Linked DNA regions of Homo sapiens: region 1 is linked to region 2. The links are contacts of gene promoters, found by promoter capture Hi-C in blood cells and fetal thymus (Javierre and others, 2016). All regions are on one chromosome and are shown on one strand. Each heading gives the region's core, a stretch centred on a gene start or on the middle of the fragment in contact. The rest is flanking DNA. Distances are from core to core; before and after follow the strand shown.

Region 1 (6,064 bases), core at 350-2,849, 210 kb after region 2:
TGGGTGACAGAGCAAGACTCCGTCTCAGAAAAAAAAAAAAAAAAGAAGAGTTAGAGTAACCCAAGCGGACAAGCCTGCTCTTGCCCACTTGCCATGTGATGCCCTCTGCCACGTGAGGATGCAGCAAGAAGGCCTTCACCAAATGCCAGCACCATGTGCTTGGACTTCCCAGCCTCCAGAACTATAAGCAATAAATTTCTTGTCTTTATAAATGATCCAGTCTGTAGAATTCTGTTACAGCAATGGACTAAGACAGGCATGATTTGGGGTACAGAGAAGGAAAACTGAGAGGTCACAGAAGAGAGAGGAGGGTGGAAGCTGGGGGAGAGGCACTGATGGAACCAGCTTCCACCCTTCCCTGCAGGGCTTGGAAAGACCCATGAGGACACAAGGGAGAATAAAAGGAAGCAGCCCTGATTGCCATGGCTGGGTCAGGGTCAGGAGGCTAGGACTGCTTTATGTCCCTGCTATAATGGACTTATGGGTTTTTTAAGATTTTTTAAAATAGATTAACTATAGCTCCTAGAGCTGACTCTACTGATAACTTTACCCTGGACTCCCTCCCTGATTTTGACCTTAGTTTGTGTGGCGGGGGGGGGGATGAGAGGCTGCGGTCCAAATGGAATGCAGTTTGCCTGTCCTCTATCAGCATCAATGCATCACCTTTCCCCCGATTTTTACCTCATGATATATTTATGCATTTAACGCATGTTTATTGAGTGAGCTGCATGCAGCAAAATGCACGTAAAAAGCAATTTTTTTTCTTTTTTCTTTGTCCTTTCAACTCCTCTCTCTGGATTTGCCTTGTCCCTGCACTTGAGATGAAAGCTAACCAATACCACGGATTTTCTAGCCACTCTGAGCCATTAAATAAAGAGGCTCTTTAAAACAAACAAACAAAAAAAAAAGTAAAAAACAGTCTACTCAACCTGAAGCTTCTCCCCTCTCAGACTCCTTCACTTCAGGTTTGGAAACTCGGTACCAAGGAGGAAGGCATGGACTTCACCATTTTCTCTCCTCCACCTCTCGTAGCCAGCTGCTAATTCTCAAGCCTCAAGCTGTGAGAGATTGAGAACTGAGGGAAAGGACACAGTACTTGACGGCTCTTACTGTCATGACGCGGCCTTGGTGCCCTCTGGGTTTAGCATGTTTTCCAACGCTTTCCTTTCCAGCCTCACTTAGGCACATTGCAGTTAAAGAATATGGCCACCAGGTGGCAGTAAAGGCCTTTTTTTTTCCTGGCCAGTAGACCCTACCCTCCGGTTTTATATGGCTACATAATTTCTTTAAGATGATGTCAAATATGCTTTCCCTACATTTCAAAAGAAAAGAAAGTAAACACTTAAAACCACAAACTGGTCAACTTAGCAAAAACTAAATATAATTTAAAGATGATGCCCTAGGGAATAAACGTGTAAAGAAAACCTCCCAAGTTGTTAATTATGTAATTACATAACTAATTTACTAAGTCTTTCTCTTCCTCAAATTATTACTGTGTAAGTCTAAATCTTATTCCCAGATCTTGATCATAATTTACCTTCCCTTAATTTAGAGTCAGAAACTTTTCCCCAAAGGCTCCTGTATGGCCAATTGTCATTTAAAGACCTTTATTAATAACAACTATTATACTAATAATATCCATTTGTTTTTTACTATGCACCAGTTACAGTTATGTTACAGTCACTACTTATAGTTATGTGTTGACTACACACAGACTACACACTGCGATAAAACCTAACTGTGGTATTATTTTATCCTCACACCATCCCTACATGTCACCACCACTGCCCCTGCCCGCATTTAGGGTTGCCAGAAAAAATATAGGCCGCACAGTTAAATTTGAATTTCAGATAAACAACAAATAATGTTTTAGCATATGTCCCACGCACCATTAGGGACATAGTTATTGCATGGGACATAAATATTTTATGGGACATATTTACACTAAAAAATAATTATTTATCTGAAATTCAGCTTTAACTGGACATCCTAGATTCTTATTTGATAAATTTGGCAACCTGACCCCCATTTTATGGATAAGGAAACTGAACCTCCAGGAAGGTAAGCAATGTAATGAAGGCTAAGAGCTGGTAAGCAGCACTGTGGAGCTGTGAACCCCAGACCCTCCGAACCGGGTTCCCTCCCTACCATACTGCCCCTCCTTGTTGTCTAGGGAATTATTCTCATCTGCCAGCTGCTGGTAAAATAATCTGCCATCCTCAAGTAAAATAATCCTTGTCACTGTTCTCAACTAAATAGAAGAAAAGCTTTTCTTCCCAGCCAAGAAAGAGTCACTGAAAGACAAATTCTCATGACTGATTTTCCCGTATCTGTCTTCCTTGCCAATTTATCGTTTCTGGAAAAAAAAAAATGAAAATCCCCCTTATTTTTTTCCCCACTGATATTCATATTTTTGTAACTATTTCAAGGCTACCTCTAGTAAACTGAAATGTAAATACAACAGTCCATCCCAATTTGTTCTTCTGGCTTAATTACCTGAAACATAATACAGTAATTTAGAACTACGCATAAAGAAAAAAACAAAACAAAATAAAACTGTAATGTCATTGCACTATGAGGATATCAAAACTTTTTGTTGTTGGTTTTTTCCCAGCCATATCTTCCAGTATTTGAGTGATGACAGACCTAGTCAACTTGTATTCCTCTGCAGGATTTACTGTCCTGCACATAATAGGAAAATAAAGCCATGTTACAGTCCCACAGCTATACGAGAACACCTCTCCCCCACAATGTCAAGGTTAGTCCCTAGCAGAAAAAAAAGCGGCAACAAAGGAACGTTTAAAGGAGTTTAAACATGCAAAGTGCTTAGAACAGTGCCAGCCAAATAGTAAGTGCTCAGTAGATGTGAGCTAGTGTTATTATTAACACCTAGAGACATTACCAATGGCCATTACCAATGGGTCTAGAGACCCAGAAATGGCTTTGCATTAATAACTAACAAGCCATAAACAATGCAGAATGAGAGAGAAGGAATGGTGGTGCCCAGAGTGAAAAAAAAAAAAAAAAAAAGGACTGGGAGAGAATGGAGGAAGGCCATTCATTCATTCAACAACCATGTCATGAGTGAGTGCTATGTGCCAGCCTTAAAGGGATGGAGAGCCCAGTGAGAGAGGCAGGTCTTTGTAGTATGGTGTGATAACTGTGCACTGGAGAGAGCAATACCCAGTACGGCATGGGAGTACAGAAAAGGGGAACCTTGGCCAGTCTAGGAGGTCAAAATGAGGTCAGGGAAACTTCACAGAGTGAGACCTCAGCTGACTCTTACTGACCCAGTAACTGCTGACCAGGCTGAGGCTGAGAAGATGGCGCATTCCAAGCAGTGGAGGCAACAGCAAGCAAAGGTGCAGACTTAAAACAACAAAGTGTGTGCAGAGGAGGGGGAGACAATTCAGTTCCCTTCTCTTTGGAAAACCAGTCAATTACCAAGCAATGTAAAGTTACTGGAATGACGGAACACCCATATGTGGGCCCCTGCACAAGGAAGTACAAATGCAAGACTTCTTCCATCTTCAACCAACAGGAGTAAGACGGTGGACACCACCAGATGAGAGAGTTGATGTCGTGGAGAAAGGAGGTTTGTCAGCTTCATGTTAACCACTGAAGAGATGTTACATGTTACATACATATATATATGTACATTTTTTTTTTTTTAGACAGAGTCTCGCTCTGTTGCCCACACTGGAGTGCAGCGGTGAGATCTCGGCTTACTGCAACCTCCGCCTCCCAGGTTCAAGCGATTCTCCTGCCTCAGCCTCCTTACATGTTATATCTTAATTAAGTTATTAATATCACTTGCAAATAAATTCATTCTCACCAATACATGGGGCTTTCACATTGATCCTCATAAGCACCCTCCCTAAATCTAAAATAATAGATTTTATTACTCCCACCTTACATATGAGAAAATGGATTTCCACAGGGATTAAAAGATTTTTCTCAAAATTATATAGCCAATAACAAGAAGAGTAGAAGTTGATCTTCAATGTTGTCCATTATTTTATTCCCCTTCTTTTCCACCTCTTTAATTAAAACACAGCCTTCAAGACCCTGCTTGAATCCCACTTCCTCTGCAAAGCTCTCCCTCCCTCCCCCACAGCACATGACATAGAGCCTTTCATATACCAAGTATGCAATAACAGCTTGATGACTGGTGATGATGATCAGGTAGCAACTGTCAGCCTGTGTGGATGCCTTGTGACCACTGGATAAAGGGGCAACTGCAGTGGTCTGGACTCAGGAAAGAAGTCCCCTAGGAAGGACTAGGCTTTGAGCCAGGTCTTGAAGAAACTGGTAGCTGTGAACTGGTGGAAGCATATGGGGTAGGAAGGAGAACATCCCACCGGTGATGGAGAAGTAACAATTTGTACAAAGACACGGAAGCAAAGTGAACCAAAACTATGCCTATCTTCTATGTCTGCCTTTAATATTATCCTTGGCAATTCCTTTATAATTAGAGAGTGTCTTCATCTGTTTATGCCACTGTAACAAAATACCTGAGACTGGGTAATTTGTAAACAATAAAAAATTTATTTCTCACAGTTCTGGAGGCTGGGAAATCCAAGATCAAGGTGCCAGCAGGTTTGGTGGCTGGAAACGGCCTGGTCTCTGCTTCCAAGGAGGTACCTTACGCACTGTGTCCTGACATGGTGGGAGGGACAGAAGGGCAAAAAGGGGGGTGAATGCTGTATCCTCATGGCAGAAGAACAGAAAAGAACAAACACTCCCTCAAGCTCTTTTGTAAGGACCCTAATTCCATCCAGGAAGGCTCTGCTCTCAGGACTTAGGCCTGTCGTCTTAATACTATCACATTGGTGATTAAGTTTTAACATATGAACTTGGGGGAACACATTCAGACCACACCAGAAAGAAATAGGCAATTCTAGACAAAGTATTTCTTCTCTTTACTTGCTTCTTTAGTCCACACGTATTTTGAGTGCTTCTCATGGGCAAGACTCTATGGGAAGCATAAAGATGAATCAAACACAGCTCTTCCCTCGTGAACAATGTGTTCACTAAAAGAGGAAGACCTATGCATGACTATCTATAACGAAAGGCACAAACTGGAAACAGCCATAAACAAGCTATGAGCTGCTACTAGTGCTTATCACTTCAAAGTAGGGATCTTTGTGGGCCGGTGGGCCCAATGTGATTCTATGAGTTCTTATGAAAGGGGTGCATTAAAGCCAGAGAGAAACTGTCTGTTCCCTTCCTGGAAGCAATGCTGTTGATGCTGGATTTTCAAGGGTACAATTTTCACGGCTTAAGATAGGTTCTGGGCCATTCTAGGCAGAGGGAACCACATGAGAAAAGATATAAAGGTGGAAAAGTTCCAGGTCCCACAAAAAAGAGTGAGGAATTTGGTTTTACTGCAACATTAAGATAAAAAGAAAAGAATGGAAAATGAAGTTGCAAATGTGGATGAAACCAGGTCATACAGTGGAAAGAATATGAAACTTTGAATTCCTAAAACAGAATTCCAATTCTGCCACTTACTGTCTACATGACCTCAGGCAAATTACTTAAATCCTCTGAGCCTCAGTTGCTTCATCTGAAGAATGCGACCAGACAGGTGGATTTTCAGGCATGCAATAAGGTGGCACACCTTCAATCAGAGATTCTTTAAATATTTCTTATTCTTTAAATATTCAAGTTTTTCAAAGGAGAGGTTGAGCATTGAGTCATGCAATGACTCCTAGCCTTTCCTCCACTGTCCCAGGAATTGTCAATATTCCACCCAGCCACATATGACCCTGCAGCTAATCTGAGTCCTTTCCTTTCTTTTAATTGGGTACAAAAGTTCCCTGTGGATTTGATTTTCGATGATGTCTTGGTATTTTTTTATAGGTTGTGAATTTGAACTTCTGCCTTCTGGCTTACACTTGGCTCAGTGCAGCTCAGGGAGTGGTTTGAAGGTTAAGGGTATTACTGACTTAGAGTGCTCCATAAGAATAGCTGTTTCTGTGTGACCATTGACAGAAAAGGAAAAACAAGCTATGGAGACTGGCTAGGGGGTCATTTAGAAAGACTATTTCATAATCCACAA
Region 2 (6,106 bases), core at 2,766-5,265:
ACCTCCTTTAGAAGCCTCAAAATGCCTTATGACAAGCCAAGTCAACTTCAGATGTTAATTTTTTAATTCTCAAAGATTTGCTTATGAAAAGCAAATTCAAATGCCTTTGAAATTATCTTATTTGCAGGTCTATTGTTAAAAAAGAACTTCTAAAAACTTTCTAAATGACATGGAGACATTTAAATTAAGCTAATCTGAAACAATATTTTTTTCAGGCAAACTCCTCTTTCTCTTATTAAATGATACAAAGAAAGGTCCAAGTTGTAGCCCGAAACTTCATTAAGAAACTGTGAATTCTAATTCCAGCTTTCACTGATACAGAACTGGTCAACTCACTTTCTAAGTATCTCTACTTCTGTTGTTCCCAGCTGAAAAAAAAGTGATAAGAACTGAAAAAAAGTGATAAGTAGGAATTGCTGAAAAAAATCACTAAAAGCCTTCAGGTCTTTGAGCATGATGATAAAGGTGATATGAATCTTGGAAAAGCCAAGTTTCAATGGTTTCAGTGAGGTTTCTCACACCTTATAGGTCAGCTTTTTCTGCCTTTGTTCCATAGCTGAAGTTCCAGGTAAGACTGGAAGCCTGACAATTTAAGTGGATGTCCCAATGTAATATCCAAACAGTGTGTATTGGTTTTGGTGACAGAAGCACTGAATTATATACCTTATGTCATGAATATTCTTACAGGGCATTCACTTCTTTCCCTTTTCTAAACAGTGTGTTTTGCTAATCCAGAATAGGTTATTTAGATATGTACAGAATATATAACTTAAGTATAGAAAAGTACATATGTGCAAATTTGATTCCCCTCAATCCCTTCTTAGGAGCCAGGAAATCCATAAGCTTAAACACAAATATACTAACTCACATTTTGTATTTCTCAAATCCTTATATCCATTCTATGAATATATAAACTATATACTCATAAGATATTGAGCTGGAAGACATCTTATTGATCATTTGATCCTACTTTCTCATAATACAGATTATAAAAATCAAGGCTCAAAGAGGAAAGTAAATTAGATGAGGAGTGGGTAGGGTCTAACTTTTTTTCTAGCATCTTAAAAACAAAATATTCTGCATTTCCTGCATGTAGATAGACCTAACCCAGTGATGAGAAAACAGAGGCTACTAAATAAACTTGATTGAAAGGAAAGCTGACGGCCAAATGGAGCTTGGTAGCTATATCTGTATTTACAGAGCCATTCATGTAGGCAATTATTTTATAAGGCTAAAAAATTAAATCTAAGAAATAAAAGGGAAAATCACAATTATTTCCCAAAAACCTTTCTCTCACAATAAAAGAGGTCCAATTTAACTGGGTAAATGGTGAGCATTTCAGCTCTATTTCACCTCCAATACACATCACTGTAACATTATGTCTTATAAAATAGAGGTTTGACTTGCCTCATCACTACCAACACCACCACCACCACCACCACCCGATCCCTCAATCAAACTTCCAAACAGTATTGTAGATGAGTTTTAAATGGCTACTAGTCTATGTCTCTTTGTCAGCAGCTGCTCTACAATGTTCTCTCTCAATCTCTCTGTCTCTGTTTCTCTCTCTCTCTCAAACACACAGAAACACACACACACACACACACAAACACACACACACACACACTGCTGCTATCACTGCCACCAACATTATTTGGTAAACTATCAGGTTCTAGGGAAAACACACACAACCCATCTATGCTATCCTTCTCATAATGAAGTGTAAATAATAAATATAAGATTAAATGTAAGGACCCATTGTGCTGTCCCAGATCCTATAACAATATAAGAAATTACATTAGCTAATTAGAAATAAAAAAATTATAATTAACATCAAGTGAAGAACTTCAAATATCCTGAGCAAAAAAAAGAAATCTATTTTCAGAGTAGACAGGGCATGTTTCTTAAGCAAACAACTCAAATATACCACCTATGTCTTGCTTCCATCTCTGTGCCAGGACTATAGAAGCTAATTCTCCCCTAGAGATCACTCACCATGAGGTTTAGTGTCCTAGAAACCAGCACCCTGCTTTTCTTCCCACAGCTTTCCTTCTGTCCCAGAGTTGCTGGATGACTTGTTGGAAAGGATCCCCTCTTTTTCTCAACATCTCCTGGATATTGATAGTCCAATGTGACCCCAACCACCAGCAAGCTGTACAACTGTGGTTCACCTTTTGCTCTCTCCTGCTCAGAGCCGTTGTGCAATCAGTTAGCCTTGAATGGAGCCATGTGTCCTGTGTTTTATCATCCCATGGTGTAAGGAAATATGTAACACTGTGGTTGTTAGAAAAAGCACTCTCAGGGCTCCCAGACTGGTGAATGCACTCAGCTGTTCTATATTTGGTTACTCTCTTTGTTTTCTTCTCAAAAGAGCCTAATTCCGGTTGATGTCTTGGGCATCCGGTCGATGTCTTGGGCATCCTGCCATGGACACCTTACTCTTCCCCCACACCCTCTCCCCGAGTCGCCTACTTTAATTTCACCCAAAGAGTTCTGCGAGAAGACATAAGAGTGTGGTGTGATGAGGAGAGGATCAATGTGTTGTTGTGCTCACTGTTCTGCAGACCTGAGCATGACACTAGCTACACTTCTGGAATTTGGAGACACAAGCACTGTCTGTGGTACAGTGATCATAACCACACACACTCTTACCAGCCTCCATGCACTGAAAACCCTATTTCCTGTAGGCAGAAACAAGCCCAGGCATTTGCCAAGACTGCTCATCTCATTCTGGTTTCATTGGAGGTGCTTAATCTCAGACAAGACCATCAGAAATCAGTTTGTATTACCTGAACTTTATCAGGGAGAAACATTTCTAACCCAAAGCAACCACCTAGAAAACAAGATTATCAGACTAGCTCAACAAAGGAACACGAAGAGAGTATAGATTTATTTTTCTCCAGTGGCATCTTCTGCAGTGAAGAACATCCTTAAATACCTAATAATGTTTGTATATCTGAACTACTGAATAAGAAAAAATAATGCAAAAGAGAGAAGTGTGGAACAAGAATAAAGTGAAAGAAAAATGGAAATATTTTAACTATATGGGGAAAATACTAGAAGGATAATCTCCTACTACATGATGTATTTAATAAGGTAGGGAAAAGGTGAAATGATGTCTTTAAATTATGACTGGAAGAGATAGATTGTGAGAAACAATATCTGATTAAATCATTGGGGTGAATGAGTGAGCACATAGGCACACACACATGCACGCACACATTGCTCCGCTATTAATATTGATACCTTCAGCATTCTTTACAAAGAAAATCACCTTGCAGGTCTATAGGGTATATGAATATTATGGGAAAGTGGAACTGGTCTCTTTCCTATTTCCTTTTAATATTAATTGCCTGATCAAACACATTACTATCACAATGGGTAGACCAGGTATATCAGTGACTCAAAGCTTCAAAGTGACAGCTTATAAAGGGATACAAGGAATCTTGCATTGCAAAGAAAAAGAAAAAGATCTAGAAGCTGTGCCTCTGCCCTACCTCCACTCTGCCCTACCACTGCCACTGCTGAAAAGAAGGAAGGAAAGGAGAGACAGAAGGGCGTTTAACCACACTTTACGATTGCTGTGGGGAGAGGGAAAAAAAACTCAACACTTTTGGCATAAGATTATTTCCAAGCGACTGTTTGCAGCTGTTGCAGCTGCCATCAGCATGAGCTGGTGGGAAAACAGCGCCCAGTGGTGCATCTTACCTGAAGAGCAGAGAAGTGCAGGCAGATGTAGGTGAAGCACAGGAGCAGCCCCAGTCCCTGAATTACAGAGGCCACCAGCAATAGCTTGTTCCTCTCGAATCTTGGCCTGGCTGCATTTCCCACATTCTCTTCCAGGGGTTGGACCCTTTCCATCTTCACAATCTGGGTAGAGGGAAGATGAAGATATGGAAAAGGGGAACGTGCGATAAAACTGAAGTTTTCCCCAGAAAGAAGGAGGTAAAGACAAAACAAAGCCTATCAATCAGAAAATAGGCAAAGGTCCCAGGGCCAGAGATAAAAGGCGATTGAAAGAGCAAAGCGGACTCTCTCAGTTTTAACGCTGCAACTTTTGCAGGCAGGCGGGGGAACTTCTTTGTGACTAATCTGAATTTCCCCTTTACTTTCTTTCTTTTTTTTTTTCCTCTGGGCTAACAGGGAGTTGTTTTTGTGACATTCCAGTTCTGATTTGAGTGACTGTGAAATGACAGTCATAAAAGTATGCTATTTTCTTAACTTATTGCACCAGTAACAAATTGTGGGTCACTTGGTAAAGATAAAAATCATCATCCGTTAATGTAGCAGCTCATATATCCCTTCCCCAAGGTGTCTTAAATCATAGAAAAGATTTAGGGGAAATGCTGGCCCAAGGTTCTTATCTGCACTTTACTATGTAACTAAACATTGAACCCCTCTCACAGATTCAGAAAGAAAGCACACACAGATCATTCTTGAATGAAAAAGACAAAACAAGAAAATAGGACACTGGGTCATGCAGAAGTAAAGGAGAGATCCTTGGTTGTAGTCTATTGCATAAAAATAAACTACCTTTTGGAAGCATTTACTATGTGTCAGACACTGTGTTAGATGGACTTGCAATCTTTCTCTCATTTAACCCTTTGAGGCAAATTCAATAAACAATTATATGATTAATTTTCTGCATACCAGAAAAGAAGCAGAAGGGTATCCTTGTCTCCTTTCCTTCCACTTCACATTTTTCCCGTACATAATTTTTCCATGAATGAACAAATGAATAGATGTAAATAAGCTTTGAAGATTATTTCTTTCTTTGAGGTCGTGGCTGGCCTCAGAACTTGGAAAGTAAGAGTATTCTATCAATAGACACCAGGTACCCTTTACCACTAAAATAAACAATGAAATGAAATAAATGATAAAATTACTTATAATGTAAAGTTCAAATGGGCAAATATTTACTGAGTACATCACATGAGCCTGGCACTGTACTGGACAACATAAGGATGCTGGGGAAAAGCTGTTTAAGACGGAATTGTCTCTCTTTGTGGCCAAGTATGTCTCTCTCAGCTCCCCATGAGGCACCCAGCAGATATGTAAAGAAAGGAGGGAGAAATATTTTGGATATTGACAGTATGAGTTGTTATACCACTTCACAGAAAAAATGGAAATGAGGCATACTTAAAAGAGAAAGTTTGTGGGAAATGTAAAGTACATTTATGACTACAGTATTAATCAATTAAAATATGAATTAATACCTTCACTACAATAATTATGCCTTGCATTAGGAGAACATACTGGTGTTGAGAAATTTAAGTTTTATCTGAAAGATAAGGTAACTAAGGCACAATATCATAGACTCCAAGCCAAAACTAGAAATCAAATTGTATCCAAACATATTTGTCATAGTTATTCCCTTGAACAAAGCTTGTGTTACATACAGGGTGTGGAGAAAAAAGCTGAAGGAAAAATCAGTGTGTAAAGCCCAATTCTTGTGTAATAGTTCTTCATAAAAGAGTATTAAAATCAGTAACTATTTACTCGTCAATTTTCAAAAAATGACTAAGAGTCACAGCAAAAAAAAAAAAAGCCATAAATACTATTGGAAACTAGAAATAAGCTGAAAAAGTAGTAAAAACTATTCATGCTGAAAATCGTAGATAACATTTTTAAATTACTGTCAAAAGAATGAAAAAAATAAACATTTACCATGCACATACTTGTACCTTAAGCAGCATTTCTTCTCAGTGTTAATATCATGGCTCCGAGAAAGAAAAATCTTTGCACAGAGTCATCTCTACCCACATTTAGGCTAACACTTGGATGACACACCTCTCATTTTTATTGTCTTGTCGTCCTACTACCATATTTTGCCTAGTTGTAATTTTTGTTGATGTTTAAGTGATATTTTACACTTAATTGTCTCTTTTTTTATTGAACACGTTTTCACAGCTCTTCACATTCTTTGTGGGAAGAGATACACACACACCAGGCTGGAAGTTTCAGGCACAGATTTCTGATAGACTATCTAGGCATTCCAAAGTTCATCACTGGGCTAGTCTAGCATTTGAACAAATGAAATCACTATTAGAGTTATCATTGCTGACCTTTCAGTCTCAGGCACATAAGCAGAGTCCTCCATCTTCAA

Evidence for each region. Contacts are between HindIII fragments. The CHiCAGO score rates a contact against its expected background, and 5 or more counts as called.
Region 1: a contact is called between a fragment that was not itself captured here and the fragment with the promoter of TNFSF4 in region 2, in 1 of 17 cell types (megakaryocytes). The highest score is 6.0, in megakaryocytes.

What each region holds. Positions count from the first base shown.
Region 1 is chr1:173,419,316-173,425,379 of GRCh38, forward strand. All of the region lies in intron 1 of PRDX6-AS1 (PRDX6 antisense RNA 1), which reads right to left. The region is part of intron 2 of LOC100506023 (a long non-coding RNA gene); the gene reads right to left. It also overlaps a transcript of TNFSF4 not described here. Among named protein-coding and RNA genes, the nearest start is that of PRDX6-AS1, 39 kb to the right of the region's middle. RefSeq lists an enhancer at 965-1,064. The HindIII fragment of the contact is 1,332 bases long and covers 934-2,265 here.
Region 2 is chr1:173,203,316-173,209,421 of GRCh38, forward strand. TNFSF4 (TNF superfamily member 4) reads right to left here and starts at 4,016. Exons shown (of 3, transcript NM_003326.5): 1 at 3,709-4,016. The coding sequence starts at 3,861. RefSeq lists an enhancer at 3,948-4,007. The HindIII fragment of the contact is 1,344 bases long and covers 3,408-4,751 here.